Regions from separate parts of the Homo sapiens genome. Here all the other regions are linked to region 2. The links are contacts of gene promoters, found by promoter capture Hi-C in blood cells and fetal thymus (Javierre and others, 2016). All regions are on one chromosome and are shown on one strand. Each heading gives the region's core, a stretch centred on a gene start or on the middle of the fragment in contact. The rest is flanking DNA. Distances are from core to core; before and after follow the strand shown.

Region 1 (4,247 bases), core at 1,544-4,043, 280 kb after region 2:
AGTCCGAGACCAGCCTGACCAACATGGAGAAACCCTGTCTCTACTAAAAATACAAAATTAGCCGGGTGTGGTGGCACATGCCTGTAATCCTAGCTACTCAGGAGGCTGAGGCAGGAGAATCACTTGAACTCAGGAGGCGGAGGTTGTGGTGAGCCGAGATCACGCGCCATTGCACTCCAGCCTGCGCAACAAGAGTGAAACTCCATCTTAAAAAAAAAAAAAAAAAAAAAAGCTCTGTGGGTGGGGCAGGCATTAGTAGCTTCCAAAGCTCCTGTTAAAGAAAATATTATTCAATGATATTTGTTTAAGTATTCTAAAGAAGACCTCATTCAGGACCATCATGACAGGTGTAAGGACCACTGCAATGGAATTTTGCAGCGTGAAGAGTGATTGGGCTCAACTTTGACTACAGCATGGGCAAGTGGAAATTTAAAGCCAAGGAGCAGGGTGGGGCCCATGGATGCAAAGTTACTAAGAGGAAATATCAGGAATAAAGGAGATTCTAGCTAAACCAGCTTAATAGGATTCTTGCTGAAGACAGGCCTGGATGTCTTCAACCAGTGGGATGGTGGAGGATGAGGAACCCAATCCAATATTGAGGTTTGATCAGACATCAAGGGTGAAGGGATGACCTAGCAGGGATCTTTGCTGAAGCTGAATTGTAAGTGCACAGATAGGCTTAGGAAGATGTTCAGGAGTCTGACTAAAGTTTGGTCAGGCAAAGAATCTTTGTCACTCCCTAGATGATTCCAACTTGCAGTCAAGTTGAAGAACCAGTGAATGACAGCACGTTGCAGGTGGGTTTCAGAAACTCCCTGAGAATCTCTAAGGGTAGCTCCAGATAATATCCTGGACAGAGGTGGACAATGGGGAGGCGATCACAGTGGATCTGGGCTATGAGGTGTCAGATGCTGGTACCAGTCCTAAGTCTGCACATAGGACTGGCTCGTGCTCTGGGATGTGGCTGCATGTAAGCATTGGACAAACTGACCACTACAGTACTCGACAGACACTGGATCCAAGCCTGCAGGACCTAAGGACTAGTGGGGATTGGCCTTCTTTGGAATAACTGCTTCTGTAGTAGCTGGCAGAGCTGCAGGTTACTGCTTTATAAGAGTGAGCACTACCTTGCAGCTCCATAACCCACATGTCAGGTTGGCCTTGGGCACTACCATCCACATACCCAGCACTTCTGAGCAGCCCTGGCCAGCCTCTGCAGCCAGCTGTCCCCAGCTTCTGTGACCATGTTCAGGGAAGGAACAAACAGGCAGCTTACAGCTGAAGGTTTGCATTTGTCTATTTAGGAACAAGGACACATAGCCACATGGCATGCAAGGCAGCTTTTTAAAAGAAGCAGTACACCTCCTCAGTAGACACACGTCCAGATGGGGCCACACCATACAGGTTCCACTAATGACTTAGATGCACTAGGCACCCCAGGCACATCAGGGAGAGAGACGTGGGAGCCTTGTCAGGGTAGCCTGGACTTTTAGATTTCCCCTCTTACTATGGTTGATGAGAAAGATCAAGTATTTACACACCGCAGACCAATGGAGCATATTTGTTGTATCCAAATGGAATAGAACAGTTGTTTTCAATCTGTACTACTCCACAACATTAAGACTTTTTTCTATTTTCTCAAAGTTTCAGCAGAAGTGTTACAAAAGAGGCCCCAGAGAGCTGCCTTGTCCTTTCCACAATGTGAAGATACAGCAAGAAGATGCAGTTTCTATGAACAAGGAAACAGGCCCTCACCAGATAGCCAATCTGCGGTGCTTTGATCTTGCACTTCCCAGCCTCTAGGACTGTGAGAAATAAATTTCTTTTGTTTATATTCTACCCATTTTATGGTCTTCTGTTACAGCAACATGAACAGACTAAGACAACCCTCACGACCAAATTACTTCCTAAAGGCTCTGCTTCTAATATCATCACATTGGGGGGTAGGATTTAAACATATGAATTTGGAGGGGACACAAACATTCAGTCCATAACAGATGAGAATGAGGTTAGAAGGTTAGAGGAGGCAGTTGATCACAAATTATTTGAAACCATTTCTAGTATTCTGTGATTAAGAAACAGAAGCTATTTTAGAGATATAGTTTAGGCCTCCACTATTCCCACTTTATAACTAGAGAAACCTAACTCTCCAGCAGCCACATGCCCAGAGTCACAAAGTGATTAGCAGTGTGCTGGGACTACAATAATCATCTCTTAGCTCCAAGCCTCATGCGCTTTCCATGCCACCAGACTGACTCATAGTAACCTGACTGTCATAGGAATACTACTTCTTTCAACTGGATTCAGAAAATAGTTAAGCAGATTCTAAATCAGGCTAGGATATTAAATCCAAACAGCCTGTGTGGAAATAAAGACCAACCACATGAGAACAGGGAGTGGATATGCATTCAGAGATTACTATAGTGAGGGAGTCATCCCTTGCATTTTGGCAGAGATTCAAAGGCAGGCAGAGGAGTGGGAAAGCTTTATAGTAGGGAAAAAGAGAATTCATGTGTACCCTGATTGGAAGCTGTTGGCATGGGGAAGCTGCAGACAGACTACCTATAAATGAGGCATCCTGTGTAATGTTTAGGGGTGCATATTTGACTTTTTCTGGTAGTTCCTAAGTTGGAAGTAGAAAAATTAAAGAAGCTGTCAATTATTGAAGCAAGTGCTGGCCATTTGAGGCCAATTGTTACAGGAGTTATTGTTTGGGTTCCTGGACTGTTTCTTAGAGATAGTAGTCAAATCTCCAGCAAGTCTGACTTGTGGATCATAGACTGGCTTCCTGGGCTGTTTATTGTAGATAATAGGGTTGTTTCCTGGCCTGATTGCTGCAGGTTGTGGATCAGAGTTCTATTTTTATATATGTTCTGGCCATTGTCCATTTGTCTATTCAGTCTCTCAGTTGTCTCAATCCATTTACCATCCCCATTCTCTCATAATCCAGAATTTTTGTCATGAACTACATCTTCTGATTTATGTATTTGTGGTTTGCAAAGTTGTGGTGGGTGGGAGATTGTTTGGATTTTCTTATTCACAATGCAATGAATGTTTTAATGGGCAAGCAAAGATTGAATCAAAAATATCTAGCAGCTCTGAAAAGCTTCACTCTGAGTACTGCTGCTTGCTGTTCTCATGAGAACAGTTGCTAGGATAAAATACAGCTTTTCTTTGAAGTATTATTACTTTATTCATTCATTATGTCTTTGTAAAATACCTACATCACACAAAGAACTATTGCAATAGGGACTATGGGGTTATAAATATGTGTGTCCTTCAGGGGGCATACATATGTGAAACACCTAGATAAAAATAATGACGGTGGATTGTTCTGATTTTTAAGTAAATTGGAAAGCATGAAAACTGTTTTATTGGGGAAAAAAAGCCTATTGGAAGAAACATCCTAAACAAATAAGAGATGGTTGATTATCCAGAAAAATTCATTTCCTCTCAATTTTATCAGACAAAAGATTATGCATTCCTTAGCCATCAGGGAAATGCAAATCAAAATCACAATGGCATACCACTTTATACCCACTAGGATGGCTGTAATAAAAAGAGAGATAATAACAAAGTGCTGAAGGAATCAGAACCTTCATATACTCCTGGTGGGAAAGTACAACGGTGCAGCTACGTTGGAAAAAGAGTTTGGCAACTCAAAAGATGAAACATAGAGTCAGTTACCATAAGACCCAGCAATTCCACTCCTAGATATCTACCCAAGAGAAATAAAAACATATATCCAGACCATAACTTGTACATGAATGTTCATAACAGCATTATTTGTAATAGCCCCAAAGTAGAAATCACCCAAACATCTATCAACAGATGAAGAGATAAACAAAATGGTATATCCATACAATGTTATGTAATTCACACATGAAAAGAAATGAAGTACTAATACACACTACAACATGGATAAATCTTGAACGTATCAGGCTAAGTAAAGAAGTCAGTTCCATTGACATGAAATGTCCAGAATGGGTAGATCTACAGAAAGTACATTAGTAGTTGCTTCATGGCTGTGGGCTGGGAAGAAATTGAGAATGACTGCTAAATAGTATGGGATTTCTTTCAGGTATGATAAAAATATTTTAATAGTGATTATGGTGATGGTTGTACAATTTGGTGACTATATGAGTACTAAAAACAACCGGCTTGCACACTTTAAATGAATACATTATATGGTATGTGAATTATATCTCAATAAAACTTATTTTTAAAAAGATGACAGATTGTAGCAC
Region 2 (3,956 bases), core at 1,314-3,813:
ACCATGAATAAAAGCAACCCTGAGGCCTCCCCCGAAGCCGAGCAAATGCTGGTGCCGTGCTTGTACAGCCTGCAGAACGGTGAGCCAATTGAACCTGTTTTCTTTATAAAGTACCCAGCCTCAGGTTTTTGTTTTTTTTTTTTGAGACAGGGTCTGGCTCTATTGCCTAGGCTGGAGTGCAGTGGTATGAACACAGCTCACTGCACCCTTGACCTCCTGGGCTCAAGCAACACTCTCACCTTAGCCCTGCAAGAAGCTGGGACTACAGGTGCATGCCACCACACCCGGCTAATTTTTGTATTTTTTGTAGAGATGGGGTTTCTGCCATGTTGTCCAGGCTGGTCTCAAATACCTAAGCTCAGGTGATCTGCCCACCTCGACCTCCCCAAGTACTGGGATTACAGGCATAAACCACCATGCCTGGCCAGGTATTTCTTTATAGCAATGCAAGAACGGCCTAATACAAAGTCCCACATTTTCATTTTGCACTTGGCCCTCCAAAGTATGTAGCCGGTCCTGACCCAGAGGCAATAAAATGTAGATCGGTTCATTGCTCTGGTCATCAGCCTCTGGATTTGCTCTAATTTCTCCACTTCTCACTGAAAGGCATCTAGTTTCTAAACTGGAGGGAGATATGAGGCCAGGCACTGTGGTGCACACCTATAATCCCAGCGCTTTGGGAGGCCAAGGCTGGAAGACTGCTTGAGGCCAGGAGTTTGGGACCAGCCTGGCCATATATTGAGACCTATGTCTGCAAACAAAACAAAACAAAAATTATCTGGGTGTGGTGGTGCATGCCTGTAGTCCTAGCAAGGAGTTTGAGGCTACAGTGAGCTATGATAGCACCACTGCACTCCAGCCTGGGCAACACAGCAAGACTGTCTTCAAAAAAATAAAATAAAATAAATTGAAGGGCCTGGAGCGGTGGCTCACGCCTGTAATCCCAGCACTTTGGGAGGCCGAGGTGGGTAGATCACGAGGTCAAGAGATCGAGACCATCTTGGCCAACATGGTGAAACCCCGTCTTTACTAAAAATACAAAGATTAGCTGGGCGTGGTGGTGCGTGCCTGTAGTCCCAGCTACTCGGGAGGCTAAGGCAGGAGAATCGCTTGAACCAGGGAGGTGGAGGTTGCAGAGATCACGCCACTGCACTCCAGCCTGGCGACAAAGTGAGACTCCGTCAAATAAATAAATAAATAAATAAATAAATAAATAAATAAATAAGTAAAAGATGTGGCCAAATAGCTGCAGGAATGTTGGGGCATAGTAGAAAGAGCCCAGGATTAGGAGTCCGCAGACAGGATTCCAGTTCTGTCACTAGAAAGCTGTATCTCTATCTTGCTGGAATTCATCCCTTCCAGCTCTCAAGGCATTGGAATCACATCTGTGAACAGGAAAACTAGCACACCAGAGTCAGAATCAAGCAATAGTTATTTATCTAGTTCCCACCCTGTGCAAGGTACCAGGTGCTCTAAGATTCACTCCAATCCATGAAGTGCGTCTACTCTTTCACCGAGATTTGCCAGTCGTCTTTCAGGGTATTTTTCCTTGCTTTCTGGATTTGATGACTTGTCTGAAACTGAAGTTCTCTCTGGAATGACTGGACCTCTTTCACTGCAGCGTCAGGAATCTCTTGCAAAGCAAGCATGGTGAACTTCCAAGATGCTGGGCCACTGGGGGAAAGGGTGCAATTAATAATCCCTACCACTTATTGAACGTATACCAAGTGCTAGGTTTTTTACTTATGTTCCCTTTTAATCCTTTGAAATGGCTTGACTCTACTCTTATTTATGTTTTTCTGATAAGGAAACTAAGGATTAAAGAGGTTAGGTAACTTGCAGCTAGAAAACGGTCTACCTTCAAAAGCATCCTCTTGACAATTCCACTAGGACCAACACCAATACCACCGAGCCCTCGTTGCTGCCTCTTCAGCGCAGAATAGCCCACCAAGTCCACGTTTCCCTAGTCCCAAGGTCGGATGGCTGGGGAGGGTAGAGGATGCAACGGAAGGACGTTAATGGAGAATTTTGCAGGGTCTGGGAGCAGAGCAGTAAACGCAGCCCTAAGCACTGAGTATGCTACAGTTTGGTAAAATCCATCCAAGCAGCTTTGGGATCCAAGGCTTGCACTGTATCCCCAACCAACACTAGGCAACGCCCCAAGTCCCCACACTTCCCACTCCGATAGGCGAAACTGCAAGAACCGGGAGGGGCGGCTGCGGCGTTTAGGCGCGAGGCACACACCATACCCTTCCGCAGCTTCCCACCTCCTCCAGACGCACGTGTTTAAAGAGTCCCTGCTCCAACCGGTCCCGCCCCACCTCCGCTCGGCCTCCAGCCCTGCTTGTACTGCTGGCTTCAAGTTTCCTCCGAGAGGCGGGCGTGCACAGCTGCAGTGGCGGCGGCAGCGGCCACCAAGCGCCCGGCGGCGCTTCGCCACCCACCTTTCCTCAGCCCCCGGCGCTGCAGTCTCCGCCCGCCGGGGAGGGCGCGCTCAGCGGAACAGGAGTCGAGGGTGGGGCGCCGAGAGGAGGGAATCCCGGGTCGCACCGCTACAGTTCTCGCAGTGGCAAAGGCGGCGGCGGCGGCGGCGGCAGCGGCAGCAGCAGGTGGAGCGAGCTACAGCGTTTGGCCTGAAACCCACTGCTGCAGCCACCCGGGCTGGAGTTGGCCCGTTGGGTGGAGCCAGTGCTCGCCCCGGTCCGACCCCCGGTTTCCGGGACACTTGGGTTGCGGAGGCCGGCTGGCCGGAGTCACGGTTGGGGACGGGCGCGCCTCGGAGCGCACGGCTGCGCTGGAAGCCGCGTCTGGGGCGCAGGACCAACGGGACCTACCTCCTCCCGGCTACCTAAAGACTCCTTCTCTCGGGAAAGAGCGCTGCCCGGCTCTGGGATTTGGGAGGAGCTCGGAGGCCGCTCGGGCACCTCGCTGGACACTATCCGTTTGCGCCCCGGTGGCGCGGGAGGGTCCGGAGCGGAGCGCTCGTCTCTCCTCAGCGGTTTAGTGGAGAAAAGCAGAGAGCTCTTCCTGGGGCGAATGGGACCTCCTCCCTCGGTCCTCCGTGGAGTCGTCGCATCGCTTGTCGTGTTGGTCTCGAGGGGCTCACAGCTTGGCACTAATTTGCAGGTGTTCGCTGCTGATTTGGTTTCTTCTTCGATTTGCGGACGGTTCCCTCCAGCGACTCTCGACACACGTTTTCCTGTCTTCGCCGGAGGGCCGGGTCTGGGGTCGCCGGAGCCTGCGGGAATCCAGCGCTTATTCGCTGACCCTCGAGTCGCTTCGCTAGCTGTGCGCCCTCCTGGGCACTAGCCTGGAGAGGAGCGTGCAGACGCGGCTCCTTGGAGGGAGTGCGGTCCTCTAGGGAGGCATCGGGCTCCTAGGGGCTTCTTGGCGTGTGTGGTGGGATTGGGGTCCGCCGGCCATGGCCTTCACTTTCGCTGCGTTCTGCTACATGCTGTCTCTGGTGCTGTGCGCTGCGCTCATCTTCTTCGCCATCTGGCACGTGAGTAACACGCTTTGGTCTCTCTTCTTTCGCCCCAATTTCGCTAAATTTCCCCGATTTCACCCCACTTTTTCCACCTTGCGGGCGTGGGCGAACCGGAAGGTTGGACCTTCTGCCGCTCCACTGTCCCGGGGCAGGAGGCAGTTCGCTGCATCCCGCCGGGCGCGCCTTCGGTGCCCTGGCTGGAGGCGAGGGGCCGCTGGTGCCCAGGTAGGACACCCTCTGCAGGGCCCGACTGGGCGTCCCGGGTCCCGGGCGCCGGGGAGTGGCGGCTACAACCACAACTAACCCCTTCCTCTCCCGCCCCGTCCTCTCCTGCCGGCGGGAGGCGAAGGAGAAGCGCCGCCGTCGGTCCCGGCAATTAGTCAAGTAGCTATAATAACTAAACATTTAAAATGTCAGCATCTGTGGTGGGTTGCATTTAGATATAATTGGAGACAAAGTGGAAACACGA
Region 3 (4,159 bases), core at 1,476-3,975, 260 kb after region 2:
TTTACTTTGAAATGCATCAAGCAACAAGATGGATTCATGCCTGAATAAAAGGATGGCTAGACAGACATGTAATAAAGCAGGCATAGTAAATATTAATAATAGTATTTAAGTGATGAGTATACCAACGTTTACTGTAACATTCTTTTAACCTTGTTATTTGCTTGTAATTTTTCATGATAAAATATTGAAAGAAATCAAGGTAGTTGTTGTGTTTGTAATTTTAAGAATTGCATTAGATGATGATAAAAAGACATATATATGAGTATTATGAAATCAGATTAAGAATCACTATTGTCTTATTTCAAAGGTCCATTAAAATCTGTTATTAAAATTAACAGATGCTGATGAGAATCTGGAGAAAAAAGAACTCTTATACACTGTTGGTAGGAATGTAAATTAGTACAGCCACTACAGAAAACAGTATGGAGATTTCTCAAAAACTAAAAATAGAACTACCGTATGATCTAGGAATCCCACTATTGGGTATTTATCGAAAGGAAGAGAAATCAACATTTCAAAGATGTATCTGCACTGCCATATTTATTGCAGCAGTATTCACAATAGTAAAGATATGGAATCAAACTAAGTGTTCGATAGATGAATAGATAAGGAAAATGTGGCATATATACACAGTGTAAACTATTCAGCCACAAAAAAAGAATGAAAAATCATGTTCTTTGCAGCAACATGGATGGAACTGGAGGTTATTATGTTAAGTGAAATAAGCCAGACACAGACAGACAAATATTGTATGTTCTCACTCATAAGTCAGAGCCAAAAAGTTGATTTCATCGAGATGGGGAGTAGAATGATAGATACTGAAGGCTGGGAAAGGTGTCTGGATGGGATGGGGGAATAAAGAGAAGTTGGTTAATGGGTGCAGACAGTGAGATAGAAGGAATAAGTTCTAATGTTTGATAGCAAAAAAGAGTGACTATAGTTAGCAACAAAGTATTGTATAGTTGAAAATAGCTAGAAGAGAACACTTGAAATGTTCCCAACACATAGAAATGATAAATACTAGAGGTGATGGATACCCCAAATACCCTCACTTGATTATTACTCATTCTTGCATATAACAAAATATTACATGTACCTTATAAATATGTACAAAATTATGTATTGGTTAAAAAAACACCCTTGTAGAGGCAGAATTATGTATCTCTACATCTCCCAACAGTGAGCACTTTATTCCTGATTTGCCAAGGAGCTAGTCTGATGGACAGAAAGAAGTGTGGTAGACCTTCTCTAAGATGGTCCTCATCTCCTGGTATTCATGCACTGTGTCAGCAGTCCCCTTCTCTGCAGTGCGTCTGGACTTACCAATTCAGTTATCATGAATAAAACATAGCAAAAGTAATTGGATGTCATCACCAAGCTTAGATTATAAAAAGATCATAGTTCTCATCTTCGGCATTCTCTGGCTTTCTCTCTCTCTCTCTCTCGGATCAGCAGTTTCCATGTAGTGGGGACACTCAGGTAGCTACCTGGGCATGCTACTTGAACTCTCTGAGCCTCAGAGAGGCTCATACCCATGCCTACCTCATAAAGTACTAAATGAGATAAAGCATATAAAGCACTTAGGAAGTGCCCGGCATAGAATATGTGTTCAAGCAATTCATTTATTCATTCAGTGTAGACTTCTTGGGCATTTAGTAGTCAATAGTACATGTCTGATGCCATTCTAGGCCATGGGGATCCTGTGGTGAGTGAAAAAAGTCCTTGCTCGGATCGAGCTTACAGTCTGGCGAGGGGAAAACAGATGTACAGTGCAGGTGGCAATAAGGTCTGTGAAGAAAAAGTCCAGCAGGGGAAGGGGATCGCATGTGTGAGTTTATAGAAGATGGTCACATTTGGGTGTGAACCTCTGCCTGCTTTGGGGAAAGGTGCTCTAGGCAGAGGCAACCACAGCCGCTAAGGTCCTGGGTTGGGGTCTTGTTTAGTATGTTTAGAATAGGAAGGAGTTGGGGCCGAAGCAGAGAGAGATGAGGGCAGAGAAAAAAGTCATGGGGGCCAGATTCTGCAGGGCCTTGAAGGCCATTGTTGAGAGTTTGCATTTGACTCTGAGTGAGGGGAAGCTATTGGAAGGTTTAAGGTAGACCAGTGATATCATCAGACTTATGTTTTAAAAGCATTACTTTGTCAGAGCAGATGGATGGAATACAGGTTGATTGCTGTTTTTATTATTATTACTAGTATTCTTTTGTACATCTTTCTTCTCTGGGAGAACCAAGTGTTTTTCTTTCCCTCAGAACAGGTATAAAAATGTGAATAAATCCCCCCGAGGTGCTGTCATATGGTAGAGAGCAGTATTTTGGGGCTGTCTTATTTTCTTATAAAGCTAACTTCTCTTCAGAGCCTATTATAATTTTTTAGTCTCAGTTGAGGGACTTGAGAACAATATATTTAGATTATTTTCTCAAAGAGCTATTGGTACAGATTTTAAACAACAATCAGTGTGTTCAGTAAAATCACTCATGGCCTTATTAGTCATGCAGCACTTGTGGATTGGTCCAGAAAACAGAATTTAGAGGATGGGTGCATATGTATATGTGCATGCTTGTTTATGTGCATAAGTGTGCATGTGTGTGCAGATGCACAGGTACGTGTATGTGTATTACAGTCCTGGTGTAGGTATGTGAGTGAATGTGTTTCTATGTGCACGTGTATGGCACATGCACGTGTGGCATATGCATGTGTGCGCATACATACATGTGTGCGTATGGATGACAGAGTGTATTCTCTATGTGTGCACATATGTGTGCTTTATGTGCATTGTATGGCTTGGGTGTTGCATATTTATAAGCATGTGCAGTGTTCATGGGCCTCTGTTTGATGCAAAACTAAGAAGTGGCTCGTCACCATCTCTGTCCTTGATATATTTTCAATCCAGTTGGGGAGATTCAATATAGAAGCAGCTGTGAAATAGCACTGCCATCAATAGGTCATCTTTTATTGGACGTTTTCTACAAAGTGTGTCATTATTCATGAGAGTATGCTGCAATAAAATATGGTCTTTGTTTTCTTTATCCACAAAGTTAAAAGGTGGAATCGAATAAGTTTTAGGTTCCCTCCTGTCTAAAGTATGATTTAAACACTCATTTTCCAGTATTACAACCATCATTTAAAAGTCTTTGAGAAAAGCAGCAACTGTAAAAAATGTTGCAGTGTTGAGCACCCTGGCCAGGCTTCTGCAGTTTGGAGCATTTTCTCCAGCTCTGGGGCTGCAGAGCTGAGGTAGGGTGGCTCCACCTCCTTCTCCAGAGAAGTGACTAGAGCACCTTGAAAGGCTAGGGAAAGGCTAGAGGCTTTAGGGACTCATCCAGCTACTTCTGCCCAGGTCCACTTGTCACCAGGCTTGATGAGTGTGAGTAACCCATCACCTTCACGCATTGACCTCCCTGCATCACTCATTCATTACTCATTCATTTATTCTCTTTCCTTTCTCTTCTCCCTCCTTGTCTCCTCTCCTATTCACTCCCTCTCCTTTCACCAACTCTCCCCTCCTCTCCTTCACTGAGGAGGCAGGCAAGATCAGACACCCAGCTGGGGGCTGGGCATAAAGAAACATGCATCTGACCTTTTCTACATGACAACTGTGGAAGTCTGCTGCTAAATCTTTCATATGATCTGCAATTCTTTTTTCCCACCTACAGATTACTCCACGCTTCCTAGCTCTTGTCATAAATCCACAGATGCCTCATTTCACAATAAGGAAAACTGAGCCAAGACGGGTTTTAGTGACTCATTTAAAATCTCACTGCTGCTTATGGCACCTCTGATTATCATCCCCAAATAAAGTTTAAAAGCCACCACATCATGGGCTATTTTAAAAGATAAACTTAGGCACATTAAAACTTTAAAGAGTATATTTGAGTAGACAGGAATTCATGAATCAATAACACTGGACCACCCATGGTTCAGCACTCCACTGTGGGGGACCCGGGAGGCAGAGAGAGGAAAATTTTATAAGGTGTTTGGGGAAGTAAAAAATATTTACTTTTATATAAAAAAAAATTTGGCTAAAGTGGAAAGTTCCTAGTTAGAGGTTAACTGGTGGTTTCTGATTGGTTAAGCTTAAGTTTCATTTTTCTGTTTATATTGAGCTTAGGTTTGCTTTTGCAGGAATCTGAGGCACAAGAGTCTTCTCAGCCTAATG

The links. The method cuts DNA at HindIII sites, captures the fragments that hold promoters and counts their contacts. A CHiCAGO score of 5 or more calls a contact.
Region 1: a contact is called between a fragment that was not itself captured here and the fragment with the promoter of CNIH3 in region 2, in 2 of 17 cell types (M1 macrophages and M2 macrophages). The highest score is 5.8, in M1 macrophages.
Region 3: a fragment that was not itself captured here is called in contact with the fragment with the promoter of CNIH3 in region 2 in 3 of 17 cell types (M2 macrophages, M1 macrophages and M0 macrophages); the score reaches 8.0 in M2 macrophages.

Annotation. Positions count from the first base shown.
Region 1 is chr1:224,895,396-224,899,642 of GRCh38, forward strand. The region is part of intron 1 of LOC105373109 (a long non-coding RNA gene); the gene reads right to left. Among named protein-coding and RNA genes, the nearest start is that of DNAH14, 32 kb to the right of the region's middle. The HindIII fragment of the contact is 622 bases long and covers 2,483-3,104 here.
Region 2 is chr1:224,613,754-224,617,709 of GRCh38, forward strand. CNIH3 (cornichon family AMPA receptor auxiliary protein 3) reads left to right here and starts at 2,564. Exons shown (of 6, transcript NM_152495.2): 1 at 2,564-3,502. The coding sequence starts at 3,422. It overlaps CNIH3-AS2 (CNIH3 antisense RNA 2), which reads right to left and starts at 2,474. Exons shown (of 4, transcript NR_183287.1): 1 at 2,445-2,474; 2 at 1,859-1,983; 3 at 1,451-1,674. The HindIII fragment of the contact is 4,503 bases long and covers 1-3,956 here.
Region 3 is chr1:224,870,025-224,874,183 of GRCh38, forward strand. No RefSeq gene overlaps it. Among named protein-coding and RNA genes, the nearest start is that of DNAH14, 58 kb to the right of the region's middle. The HindIII fragment of the contact is 2,698 bases long and covers 1,377-4,074 here.